3 separate regions of the Homo sapiens genome follow, and all the other regions are linked to region 1. The links are contacts of gene promoters, found by promoter capture Hi-C in blood cells and fetal thymus (Javierre and others, 2016). All regions are on one chromosome and are shown on one strand. Each heading gives the region's core, a stretch centred on a gene start or on the middle of the fragment in contact. The rest is flanking DNA. Distances are from core to core; before and after follow the strand shown. Region 1 holds the start of ALKBH3-AS1 (ALKBH3 antisense RNA 1). Region 2 has its middle 8.5 kb from the start of MIR670. Region 3 overlaps LOC124902807 (potassium/sodium hyperpolarization-activated cyclic nucleotide-gated channel 4-like).

Region 1 (4,137 bases), core at 599-3,098:
CCTTGTTAATCATGGAAGGAGCGACACAAGCTGACTGGCAGGTGAGGATCTGCAAGTAATATGAATCTGCTTTCATGTGGAGGCAGTTTCCTGACTCTGAGGACTATTTCTAAGTAGACATGGTGAAAAGCAAGCTGCTTTTACAACGAGCAAGAGGGAATGAGCTGACATTCTTTCCAAGGAGTTTTGCTACTACTGACAATCCAGGTGGACACTAGTGTGTCCGGTAGAACTTTCTGTGATGATGAAAGTGTTCAGTATCTGTGCTGCCTATTGTAGTAGTCACTAGCCACATATGACTGACTTCTTAAAATGTGGCTTGCATGCTATAAAGAACTGAGTTTTTAATTTAATTTTAATTAACTTAAATTTAAATAGCTTCAGGGTAGCTAGTGACTATCTTATTGGAATACACAGCTCTGCAGCTAGGCCATGCCATTTTTAGGCCAGATCATTTCTAAGGTGCACATGTTAATGTCAAAACACTTACCATAAGAATGGAATCTCATGCCTCTCTTTGGTCTCATCCATTTATATGTTTTATGAGATTTGGGAAATGGCAGGTGTCTGAGAGGAACAGCAACAATTAGAAAAGATGAAAATATCTCACTTCAGAGGTGCTGGCATAGCACAGTGGGGCTGGGGATGGAAATTTGTTTCAAAGAAGGGACCTTTCTCCACAAGACTTCAAAGAGCTTACTACTCATTTAAGGGGGATGAGATGGAAATATTTCTGCATTCTCATGAATAAGTTTTAAGTCGCTTTGAACTAAAAGTGTGTATGTGTGTATTTATGTCAGAGTTATGTGTATTTCCATTTAGCATCGAGTGCCCAAAGAATACCACTCTAGAGAACCGAGAGTGAACCTGACCTTTCGGACAGTCTATCCAGACCCTCGAGGGGCACCCTGGTGACGTCAGAGCTTTGAGAGAGAAGCTTCACTGAAACGGAGCAAACCTTCCACTGAGAAGCCACTTCAAGAGGCTGGTGCTGCTAGATCTCATGATGTGGCTGTTGGGAAGATGGTGGGGTTTGTTTGCCAGCTTGGAGTCCTATTAAATGAAAGCCAGCAACTCATGTTGGTAATAGGTCTACTGTGGGAACAGTTATCCCTAACCACAGCTCAAAATCGCTATCATCTTTAGGCAAATTAAAATCTATGTGGCAGTGCTCATGGATGATTTTGTTCTAAGCAGTTTTCCTCCTGCCCTCCCCCGCCCCCCACACGCCCCGCCTTCATTTGAAGAAATATCAATGGACTTGTGCCTCTGGGGAAAAGAAAATCTCACGTGTTTGTTCCTTGTGACTTCAGTGAAGTGGAGATATAAATATGCGTCAGGGACTCTGGAGCCTTCCGTAGGCAGACAGCTGCTGAAACCCAAACAGAGGTGGTTTCATCTTGGCTTGCATACTATTGTAATGGAAAGCTACATATTCAGGGAACACTGTAACTGAGTCTTCCTGCAACACACTCAAGACAGGTTACAGGCCTCCAAATAAAGAGTGGTGGCAGTATGCTCTCGTCTAGCCACCTTCAAGTAGTCACCTGTAATACAAGAGAAAACTGTCCCCTTAAAGGGAGGAATCACTGAATGATGTCACGGGAAGTAGCAGGCTGAAATTGAGGCTGAAGAGCAGCAGAAGGCCTGCTCATGACAGCTGTTCCACATAGATTATTTTCCCCTCGGGAATCACTTGAGTCATCTAGACCCAAGTCAGATAGAAGTGGGAGCAGCCCTGCAGGGAATGCACTCAATTGCCTAATAGTTCTCGTCACCTTGTGTTTCAGTAGCCCTATGACTAACGCTCTCTTCTGACTCAATGTTTTCTTACATACAAGGTCCCAAGGTACAAGGGTTAGTCTGTGATGTCACTGAGGTTCCCAAAACAAAACAGAGTGGCTGCCCATTGTTGCATCATAAAACCACGTGTCTTCTTGACCTCTTGACTCAGGAGCCGTGTACCAGATTCATTCCAAACCAAGATACAGAAAACCTGAGAGAAAGGAAATGAATTTAAATGGATGAAAATAGGGCGGGAGAGTTAGAGTTTCTCTGTCTGCCAGTGGGGGAAAGGTACAGTGCCTTCTTGCTTTTTATCCTGTTTCCATTCCAGGCTGTAAGATTGATGCTGTCCATGATCATAGGAAAATGCCAAAGGCTGGGCATGCTCTGACTCGGCACTCAGATGGAGCACCATGCCTGGCCAGGCTGTTCTCTGACAAGCTCTCTGGCTCCTGGCATTGTAGTCCCCCTGCCCTTTTAAAAAACAAAAAACAAACAAACAAAAAATGAGCACGGCTTGTTTCTCTAAGAAATATGAAATACTTTCTAAAATTTGAGCACCACACCAAGCTTTCCTGTGAGGGAGGTTCAAATCACCATAGGAATAAAATAAAGCCTCTTTTCAATGCTTAGCTGTTCTCCTATTAATGCAAATAATACCTGGCCAGGTGATACAGCCAGCTTTGGTGATCAGTTTGATGCATGACACTAGGAAATTTATCTTCCATTCCTTACTAATGAAAGAACTGGCAGATGGTTCCAAGTCTTCCAGCGTCCCTCTTTCTTAATGGAGGGTCATGATCTCCCCGTGTGGCAGCTGTGCATTTGATCTCTTCACTTGTCACACCCATGTCTTCCAGGGAAACATTTCTACTCTACAGCAGATGGAGTGGGCCACCACCTGGGTTTCTTGGTCTGAGAGCAGCAAATCTTCAGTTTTGTTTTTCTTGCTGTCACTCCAGATACCACATGCCAGAACTGCCCTTTTCTTTACCATTAAGATAATGTCCCTTCTGAAATGGCAAGTAGGTACTTGCCATAGAGTAAAACTACAGGGTGTAGGCATGGACAGGAATTCCAGACCATGGCAAAGGGCAGTGTGCCTCAGTGACTGCAGCAGCCTGTTGCTTTGTTTTGCTGGTGCTAGATCTGAACTAGGAATTAGAGGTGAAGCTGTTTTTGCTTACATCGCGTGTAAAGCTGAGGAAGCAAATATAACAGCGGTAGCATGAAGAAAAACAGGTTTCGGTTTTGTTTTTGCTGCCCTTCTTCTGAGCTTCAGCAGGCACTGTCCTAGGAGCTTTTATACATAATCCCTTATCCTTCCCACAGCGCTGCAAGAGAGAGGTCCTATTCCCATTGTAGAGGCTAGGAAACTGATCTCCAAGACGTTAGGTAAGTTAACAGGGCTTGTAGTGGCAGAACCAGATTGCAGACTGCAGGCTAGTTTCTCGGCCTGTTTGGTTTCCCTTTGCCATGCTGAATGTAGGCGAAATGGTCTGCTGAGCACTCCCGGGAGCCTGAGCCTCAGGGCTGGCTCCTGTGGAGCTGGTCACAGCTGACCACAGGCCACCTGTTTGTTCCCTGACTTTCCTGTTCATCAGGGCAGGCATCTGCATCTCATCTTTCCTTAATCAGCATCAGCATCCTCTAGCCAGAAACTGCTGGTGACTGGACTAGCAGTTGCCCATTTCATTGGGGAAGCTCCTTTTGAGGGGACAGAATCCAACTTCTGGTGAGTTAGACAAATTCTCAGCCAACTTTCCTTGATTTTCTGGCAAGTGTTTCCTGACCATATCCACCTTCAGAGATATGAAACTTTTAGAGACAGATAAGTTTTCCCCGGTGGTCCTTTCTCACCTCATTCTTACCTGTGAATACACTTGGGGACCCTGAATGACACCCAAACTCATAGCAGGCTTTTTCACAATACTTACCAACACCATTACTCCAGTCAGCAGCCCAAAGAAACATCAGGCTCCACACTAAAAATGTCTTCTTTATAACAGGCAACTTGCTTCAAACATGGGTTGGAACACACACTTAGCACCAGATTGCATCCCCAGTGTTGAAATCAGGATCCACATTGATCCATCATTAACCCACTAGCTCGGGTGGCATTGACAATTCCTGATAAGTTTGAGTCACAGCTAATAAACCTGCCCTTTCCTTGTGGCACCCACTCTCTGCCTCTGTGGCTGATGTGATCCTGCCCTAGTGCGTGGCAGGTCTGTCTGGACACAGTCACTATAGAGCCGTCTCCTGAATTGTGTCATTGCAATGCTGAAAGAGTTAAGTAGGCCCTGCAGTGCGCTGAATGCTCCAGTTGGAGGGTTTCAGAGAAAGTCTTGA
Region 2 (4,137 bases), core at 1,211-3,710, 370 kb before region 1:
GCGTAGGCTGAACTAACTTTGGGAGGAACTTACAGTTTCACTTTGAAACAAAGATGGTAACAGCCCTTTCACAATACAAACCCCCGTCTTGCCTGGGGAACAGACTGCCTTTGTAGTATTAACAAATTAGCCATAGGATTAGAGATTATGGTTTAGGAGTCATGTAGCTGGAGGCCACAAGATTCTAAGCCTCCCCAGTTGCTCCTAGGGATAGCATCACTATTGGAAAACCTGAGATTGGTGCTGAAGATATTTTTCAGACCCTGCAGTTGATGGATCAGCTGGCGTCACCCAGATTGAGAAACTGGCTGGCTGGTCCTGTGGCCCCTACCCAGGAATCTGCTTAGCGCAAGAGGACCACTTGGAGGCTCTGTGATTTTGTCTCTGACCAAACCAATCAGCACTCCCCACTCCCTGGCCCTCTACCCATCAAATTATCCTTTAAAAACACTAGTCTGGAATTTTCAGAGAGACTGATTTGAGTAATAATAAAACTCTCTTCTCCCGATCAGCCAGCTCTGCGTGAATTATTGCAATTCCTCCGTTGATAAATCTGTTCTATCTGGGAAGTGGGTAAAATGAACCTATTGGGCGGTTACCAAGTCGAGGTGGAGGGCTGCCTGGGACAAGCACTCCAGAGTAGAATCCCCTAAAGTAAACCCTCTCCATGAAAAGCCATATAGGGTGTGGCAGACAGCCTGGATTAGGGAGCTGGGGAAGCCACCCGCCAACCAAATACCGAGCACTGGGGGAGGGGCAAGGTGCGAGGCAGACTGGGGAGGACATGGAATCCGATGGAATCTGACCCAGGCCATTCCCTGTCTCCCTGAGGGAAATCAGAGACTTGGTGCTTTTACTTTTACAGGGATCCTATTCCCAAGGCAAGGGTTATTCCCCTTAGGATAGTTCCAAGGAAGGCAAAACCTAAGTGTGTTCATTGCTGGGATGGCCAGGAAGTGGAGTAATAGGAAGAGAGTTGGAGGCAGGAAGTGGGTCCTTTTGGCTTTGTGTCTGGATTTCAGTGTGTCTGGACAAGTGCCTTTCTACCCTTGGCTTTCCAAACTCACTTATGAGGAATGGGAATGGTCAGTTTAATGGCTATTGAGTGCCTGACACTGTGGAGAGAACAAAGGGAGTGCCAGGTGATGTCCCTGACCGACAGGAATTTCTGTCTCATGGGAGAAGGCCTATATTCTGGAAATACTTAACAAAATGTCAGTGGGTCTGTGAGGTTAAGAGCCAACGTGAGAAGTGTAGACAAGTGCTTTGATAGAAAGGAGAGAGCGATAGAGGCCAAGGAGCCAAAGAAGGGGGAAGATCTGGATAAATGGAGAGGAGCTTTGGGTGCTGAGAACTGCATGAGCAAAGGCAGAGAGGAAGGAGTGTTTCTGGCTAGTCCACTGGTCAGGAAGAAAGCTGGTTTGGCTGGAACAAAGGGTGCAGGATCTGAGAAGGCCAAAGATCTGCTTGACGAATGAGTCTACTGAGGCCCAAAGCAGAGGCTTCCAGGTTCCCCTTCAGCCCCAGTTACCCAGAACTTTGTAAAGCTCAGTGCTGATCACATAAAACCATCCTCAGAAACATGCAGTGGCTCTCCGTTGCCCAAATGCTATCATGGCACACAAGGCCCATAATAACTTATCCTAAACCTACCAGGTCAGCTATATTCCTGTTCTACACTTTCAGGCCCACCATATCCACCGAATTACCTCTGGGCCCTGAATATGCCCTCTACTTTCCCTCTTTTTTGCCTTCAATTGCATGCTTTTCCCTTTTTTTGGAAAGTTCTCTCCTCCCTCACCATTTCTGCCCACTCATCCTTGAAAACACAGCTCAAGTGCCAGCTCATCCCCCAGCCAGATGTAATTTTCATCTGAGTTTCCACAACATCGTGTACTCTATCTTGGCACCTCACGTTCCATGTTGTATTATGGATATGCAGAGACATCATCCTTCAAAGTAGATACTGCTAATTGGACCACTTCTCACCACCTCCATCACTGTCAGCCTATTCCACGCCACCATCATCTCTTGTCTGGACTGCTGGGATGGCCTCCTGATCAGCCCCATTGTTTCCTTCTCGCCCTCTTTAGTCACTTCTCTCCAGAGCAGCAGAGTGATCCTTTTAAAACATAGATTATGTCACTCTCCTGCTCAAAACCCTACAATGGTTTCTCATCACATTCAGATGTTATTCAAGACTTAGTATGAAGGTCAAGACCTACGTTATCTGGCCCTGTCTACCTCTCAGACACCTACCACCCTCTGCTTTGCTCACTAAGCTCTGGTCACTCTGTCCTTCTTCCTCTTTCCACACTATTCCAAGCTTATTTCTTCCTCAGAGTCTATGCACTTGCTGGTCCCTATAAATGAAGTGCATTTCTTTTAGAATTTACATGGCTCATTCCCTCGCTTCATTCCTGTCTTGGGTCAAATATTTTCTCAGAGAAGCATTCTCTGACTACCTTATCTAGAATATGTCTTCTACCAGACACTCTCCACTCCCCTTTTCTCTAGAGCCATTACCACTGTCTGAACCATATTATACTTATTTGGTTATTTATTTGTTTATTGCCTGTCGCTACCATAAGAAGTTAAGCTTTGTAATGTCAGGAACTCCTGTCTTGTTGACTGATGTAGAACGTTCGTCACACATACTAGGTACTCAGTTTTATAAAGGAGTGAATGAATCTAAGCTCTGCTACTAAACTATACGTTCTTTGAGGGCAAGCACCATGTTTTATACATTTGAGTCCCCTTTTCCAAGTCCTAGTTTCTTATACCTAAGTCCACTCAAATGCTTGTCTGAATTTCAGATTCTGCAGAGAAAACCCCCAGCTGCTTTTCTCCCATTAATGTAATTATACCTGTTTAAAAGACATCAGGAAATGGTCTTTACCTATCCTGTCACCTCCAGAGATGACTCAGTCTTCATCACATTGATCCCTGGCAAGTCTACCAGATCACAGCTTCTCCAGTTGTGGATCTCAGGCCATTAAGGGGTTGTGACCTACATTTTTTGATGACATAGAACAAATGAGAAAATAGCAGAGTGCATTGCAGGTTTTAAGGATAACTATTACTTTTTTCTGTTGTGGGTATCATCAGGTCATGCTATAAAATGAACATCTGGCCAGGCGCGGTGGCTCACGCCTGTAATCCCAACATTTTGCGAGGCCGAGGAGGGTGGATCACCTGAGGTCAGGAGTTCAAGACCAGCCTGGCTAACACGGCGAAACCCCGTCTCTACTAAAAATACAAAAATTAGCCAGGCATCGTGGCGAGTACCTGTAATCCCAGCTACTTGGGAGGCTGAGGGAGGAGAATCACTTGAACCCGGGAGGCAGAGGTTGCAGTGAGCCAAGATCACACCACTGCACTCAGCGTGGGTGATAAGAGTGAGACTCCGTCTCAAAAAATATAATAATAAAAATAAAAAATAAAATAAACATTGTTGGCCATTGTCTAAAAACTTTGAAAGTTCTAGATGTCCCATAAGTAGTTATTTTATAGAATACATACTTATACTCTTAATATTTAAATAGCTAGCATTTATTGCAGGTTATTTTTGTGCTGGGCACCTGTGTTACACTGTTTCACATACATTATCTTACAGTCCTCATTACAGTTCTAAGAGGAGGGGCTTATTATAATTCTTATTATTTTCATTTTACAGAGGAGGAAACTGAGGCTTAGAGAAATTAAGTAATTTGCCCATGATCACAAAGCTGGTAAACAGCTAAGTGGAAGGCCCACTTCCAGAGCTTTCCTTACCTGCTAGTGAGCAATCTCTCCAGCAGCATCTATTCTTTAATTTCATGTTCTGAACTGAAAAAGCCCCCACAGCCTTGTTTTATGTCAATAAACACTACTTACCCAGCATTCTGATGGGAGATTTTTTTTTTTTTTTTAGGTTGCCGGTAGGCACCACTGAGGCAAATGGACTGTTGTCCTGTTAAGAGTTCCACAGACCTAGAGAGTCTGGGAATCACGGGTCTCAATGTATTCACACTAGTCCAGAACTTGAAGAGACCTGGAACTGCAGCTGCTCGGGGGCCACCTGACAGAAGCTGTGGTTTTCACAGAAGGACACAGCCACAGACAGCCCATAGCTTGGCAGGGAGGAAGGTGGGGAAT
Region 3 (4,137 bases), core at 1,049-3,548, 350 kb before region 1:
CTGTAGCTTTGAGCATCTGCCCCCATGTTGCCCCCATCCCCAGTAAAGCCAAAATGGTCCCATCGAAGGAGGGGAGGGGAGAGCCTGGAAATGAACACTCCCAGGGAATTGTGAGTGATGGAATGTGGATTGCTGACACCATGTCCCTTTCCTCTTGCTTGTTGTAGGAGCGTCAATGACCAAGAGGAGACCAGATGAGTTTTCAAAGCAGTCCTCAAACACCCAGGACACACCTCATCCTTTACCTCGTGCTTTCTGCAATGTTGCTGTTCATGTTCATCTTCCTATTAACATTTGCCATAATAACCCCTCATTGACCACCATCATTCCTCCATCCACCACCAACTCAGCTCCTTCTCTAAAGTGCCCTCTAATGGGCAGTGGCTTTGGTCTCTGTTTGGCAAATTATGTCCAGAGGGTTAACATTAATTTCTCTTTCTCCTATTCCTCCCTCATGCTAGATTCAGTCCATCACTCAGCCTCCTGTCAGGAAAACCATAGCAAATCCTACTTTCTGCTAAAATGAAGTTACAAGACACTTTTCCAGAGTAGTCACACTCAATGAAGGGACCCAGGGTGTATCTGAGTGTGATGTAATTGAAACCACATGGAAAGACTAGAAATACCTTGCTCCCAGTCAGATATAGTGAAACAGCTTACTCAAGACTGGACTAAGATTTAGAATATAGGGGGGCTAGGGAGGAGAAAGAGAAAGATCCTCAGAAGTGGATTGTCCCTGAATACAGGATGAAATCATCTAGATTTTTTTCTCCAATTAAATTTGCATTTCATTCAACCACATTGCAATGGCTTCATACTGGGCATTTTCATTTGAGACCCAAGGCTTTTCTTCATGGGTCCTGAGCCACAGGTTCCTGGATGGTGAGGTAAGTGGCATTTGCCCGCACTGTCTAGGGTGGTTTGTAGTGCTTTGATAAACCCTGTGCTGATGAGTCAGATCCACCCTGTTAGGCCCTAAAATTTGTCCTCTATTGGTCCCTCTTTACCCAAATGCTCTTCAGGGATCCTAGCCCAGACATAGATGTTAGTCCAGCCTCACAATGTTAATTTAGACCTCTATAAAACCAAAACAGATCCTGAGGATTGACCAAACCAGAATTTGTTGTCTCTTTCTCAAAGACAATCACTACTACAAAAAGTGTAGCTCTCTGAAAACCCACCATACCTAGAAAGTGTATTTTCTCCCCTCCCCTTTTCTTTCTACTTTTATAGGTAAGCTAGCACTGATGGAAGATACCAGGTTTTCAAATGTGAACTGAAGTCTCTCTTCTCATGACAAGATTCAGATCCAATTCATTATTTAACTAATAGCCTCTCCAATAAGTACAAAAAATCTTGCCTATCCAGCAGATATGTTAGTCCATTATTCCTCTATGTCCCCCAGCCTATACTTATTAGACTAGGAATTAAAGAAATACAATCCCCATTCTTTACTCTTGGCCTACCAGATATAGTGATCCAAGCTTAGTAGATCAGCAGCTAATTGCAAGGCTGCTTTAATAGTGAATGAATAAAAAGTTCTGCTAATTCAGACCTACCCAACACCCATGAATTTGTGATTGAGCTATCTCTCTGCCTGCTGAATTCAGGTAGATAAACAACTGTCCTTCAACCACAAGGTTAAGGCTAAACTTATGCAGGTATCTCTAAACATGCTGCAGATTGTTCTTTTCTCTCTGTGGCCATGCTTCCCAACCCCTGACACCTTTCTATTTAGCCTCTGCTAAGCTCAAGTGTGCTGGAATCCTGATCCCTGCCCCAGCCTCAGCCCCCTATCATGTGCTTGCTTTAGCTCCCCTGTCTTTGCTGAGATCCTCACCATGAAACCAACTCTAGGTATTCCTGAGTGACTCTCTAGGTTCTCATTCTCTCCAATGTGCCTTTTATCAGCAAGGCATGGGAAAACCTATCATCTGGTTCTCCAAGGTGTCCAGCAGTTAGAATGGCTGAGAGGAGGGCATTTGAGTTTGCCCATCGATAATGGGGTTGTGCGAAAAGCAGATATTGTCTCAACTGTTCTGAAGTTGAACAATGTTACTTTCAGGTGAATAGACTGTTGAGACTATTTTGAGTTGTTGATGGCAACCAAAAAAAAAGGGGGAAGGGGTGGAATTACAGTCACTTTCCTCCAGCATCCAGTGGTCCTTAAAACTTTCACCCTCAAATCTCCAAATATGCTGGCTTCTAAGAAGTGCTTTCCAAGACCGAATATACTTCTTGATCAGGGTAAGTGATGAAAATGTGTATTTAACAAGGGGAGGGGATCTTGAAATAGCCTGAATTATGCATGCTGTGGCCTATCTACCCCCACCGTGCTAATGGCTCAGCCTATAAAGTTTTCAGAATCAGAAAAATAATCAGAGATGCTAGTTTCTGAAGGAGCGACGGAGGACTAGGATGACTAGCTAACTCAAGGTGCATGTAGACTTTCTGCTGTTCTTACTTTAGGAAAGGTTTCTTGGAAGACTGGACCAGGGAGTTCCTAATTCTTCCCTGGACCATCTCAGGGGCATCCTCGGTGTGAGTGGAAGCATGCTTGGATGCAGCAGCCTGAATGAATGTCAAGTTCACTGCATCTCCACCACAAACTGGTTGGTTTCAGGCAAATCCCTTGAGTTTTGGATGAGGCTAAACCAGCTAGGGCTTTCCTTGAAATAGGATGGAGGGGTCTCTTCTCACAGGCAGAGAGCCTTATTCAGGGGGCATCTATTCGCTAACAGGCTTCTTAGGAGGAATAGATCAGTCTCGTTATTCAGAAAATGTCTGAGAAAGTCCCAGACACCTCCAACTCCACATGTTGGGGGATAGACCTGGAATATTAAAGATCAGAGGTTGGAATCGAGGCAACATGATGGAGTGATGTGGCATGAGTATTGGAGCCATACAGATATGAATTTGATCTGATCCTTAGTTTTGTAACTTCAAGTTCTAAGACTTTTAGACAAGCTGTTTAAACGTTATGGTCTCCATTTCCCTAGCTTTCAAATGGGAAAAATAATAACTGTTTTGGGAGTGATTTCTATGCTCAACAAGCCTAAGGGGTAGGTACCATTATCATAATGACACCTAGAGAATTGCCTTAAGGATTAAATAAAGCTTCTTATGTAAAAGTGTCCGGCACAGTGTCTGGCATATAGTTGAAGCTGAAAAACTATTGGTTTCTTCTCTCTCCCTCTTTTCCTTAGGCCAAAATAGTTCTGCTCCCTGATGAAGACACCTTTAGGAAAAGAGGAATCCTTTTCCTAGACTTCCTCCCTGAGGGACTTCCCTTGGTTGATATCATGGGAGCTGGACTGTTTTTCCTTCTCCAAATCCAGTACATTACCTACTGGCATTTTTCGTGGTGCTTGGGGAGGAGACAGTCGACGCAGGCAGGAGTTTCTGGGCTTCGCTCACCCTGAAAGAGAGGAGACTCAGTTCTTTTCAAGGGCTTCGTGATAAGCAGCCTACTCCCACAAGCCCTCTGGGGGAGCATTGGGGGAACGAGTCCTCCTCATGCTTGGGATGCTCTGGAATGAGCTGGCAATGCAGAAGGCGGTTTTCACCTTGGACAGGTTCCACATCAGTCTATTCATTTGCAGGGTCTTTAGCTTGACTGCTCAGACAGGAATTGGGCACCACAGCCCTTAGTACAGGATGATGAGACAGCTCGGGAAGCCAATTTCACCAGCTCCAGCCCAGACATCCTCCAAAGGACCTGACTGAGGAGTAGGGGAAATGGAGATGCTAGCTATGGAGGTCTAACTTTCTGCAGATGTTTCTGCGGAGCTTCCAAGCCCCTCTCTGTCTTGATTACTGGAGCAAGACAGAAACAAGGCAGAGAGGCGCCCTCTTCTGGGAGGGAGGAGCAAAGACATTGAATCCACCAGGAAGCCGGCGTTACACCAGCATAATTTTGGCTGCTGCCCTTAAAGTTCTGATGTGCATTTCTTCCATTTCCAACGCTACCTTACTTGTTAGGACTAGATTCTGGGTTTGCTTAAAAGTTGTTAAGTGATTTTAAATGAATCTGTCTTGATCTCAACATCAGACACAATAACACTCAGCCACTATATACAGCATAGAAAGCAGTTACATTCTAAAGTGCCCTGCTCTGTATAGTTTCAATAGTCCAAA

Evidence for each region. Contacts are between HindIII fragments. The CHiCAGO score rates a contact against its expected background, and 5 or more counts as called.
Region 2: a fragment that was not itself captured here is called in contact with the fragment with the promoter of ALKBH3-AS1 in region 1 in 1 of 17 cell types (neutrophils); the score reaches 5.7 in neutrophils.
Region 3: a contact is called between a fragment that was not itself captured here and the fragment with the promoter of ALKBH3-AS1 in region 1, in 1 of 17 cell types (neutrophils). The highest score is 5.0, in neutrophils.

What each region holds. Positions count from the first base shown.
Region 1 is chr11:43,919,096-43,923,232 of GRCh38, forward strand. ALKBH3-AS1 (ALKBH3 antisense RNA 1) reads right to left here and starts at 1,849. Exons shown (of 6, transcript NR_038907.1): 1 at 1,779-1,849; 2 at 1,291-1,369; 3 at 491-567. ALKBH3 (alkB homolog 3, alpha-ketoglutarate dependent dioxygenase) reads left to right here. Exons shown (of 10, transcript NM_139178.4): 9 at 1-41; 10 at 823-1,179. The coding sequence ends at 915. It also overlaps a transcript of ACCSL not described here. RefSeq lists an enhancer at 1,131-2,330. The HindIII fragment of the contact is 1,418 bases long and covers 936-2,353 here.
Region 2 is chr11:43,549,062-43,553,198 of GRCh38, forward strand. No RefSeq gene overlaps it. Among named protein-coding and RNA genes, the nearest start is that of MIR670, 8.5 kb to the right of the region's middle. The HindIII fragment of the contact is 273 bases long and covers 2,325-2,597 here.
Region 3 is chr11:43,569,600-43,573,736 of GRCh38, forward strand. The region is part of intron 2 of LOC124902807 (potassium/sodium hyperpolarization-activated cyclic nucleotide-gated channel 4-like); the gene reads right to left. It overlaps MIR670HG (MIR670 host gene), which reads left to right. Exons shown (of 2, transcript NR_131246.1): 2 at 168-801. It also overlaps a transcript of HSD17B12 not described here. Among named protein-coding and RNA genes, the nearest start is that of MIR670HG, 2.4 kb to the left of the region's middle. The HindIII fragment of the contact is 1,633 bases long and covers 1,483-3,115 here.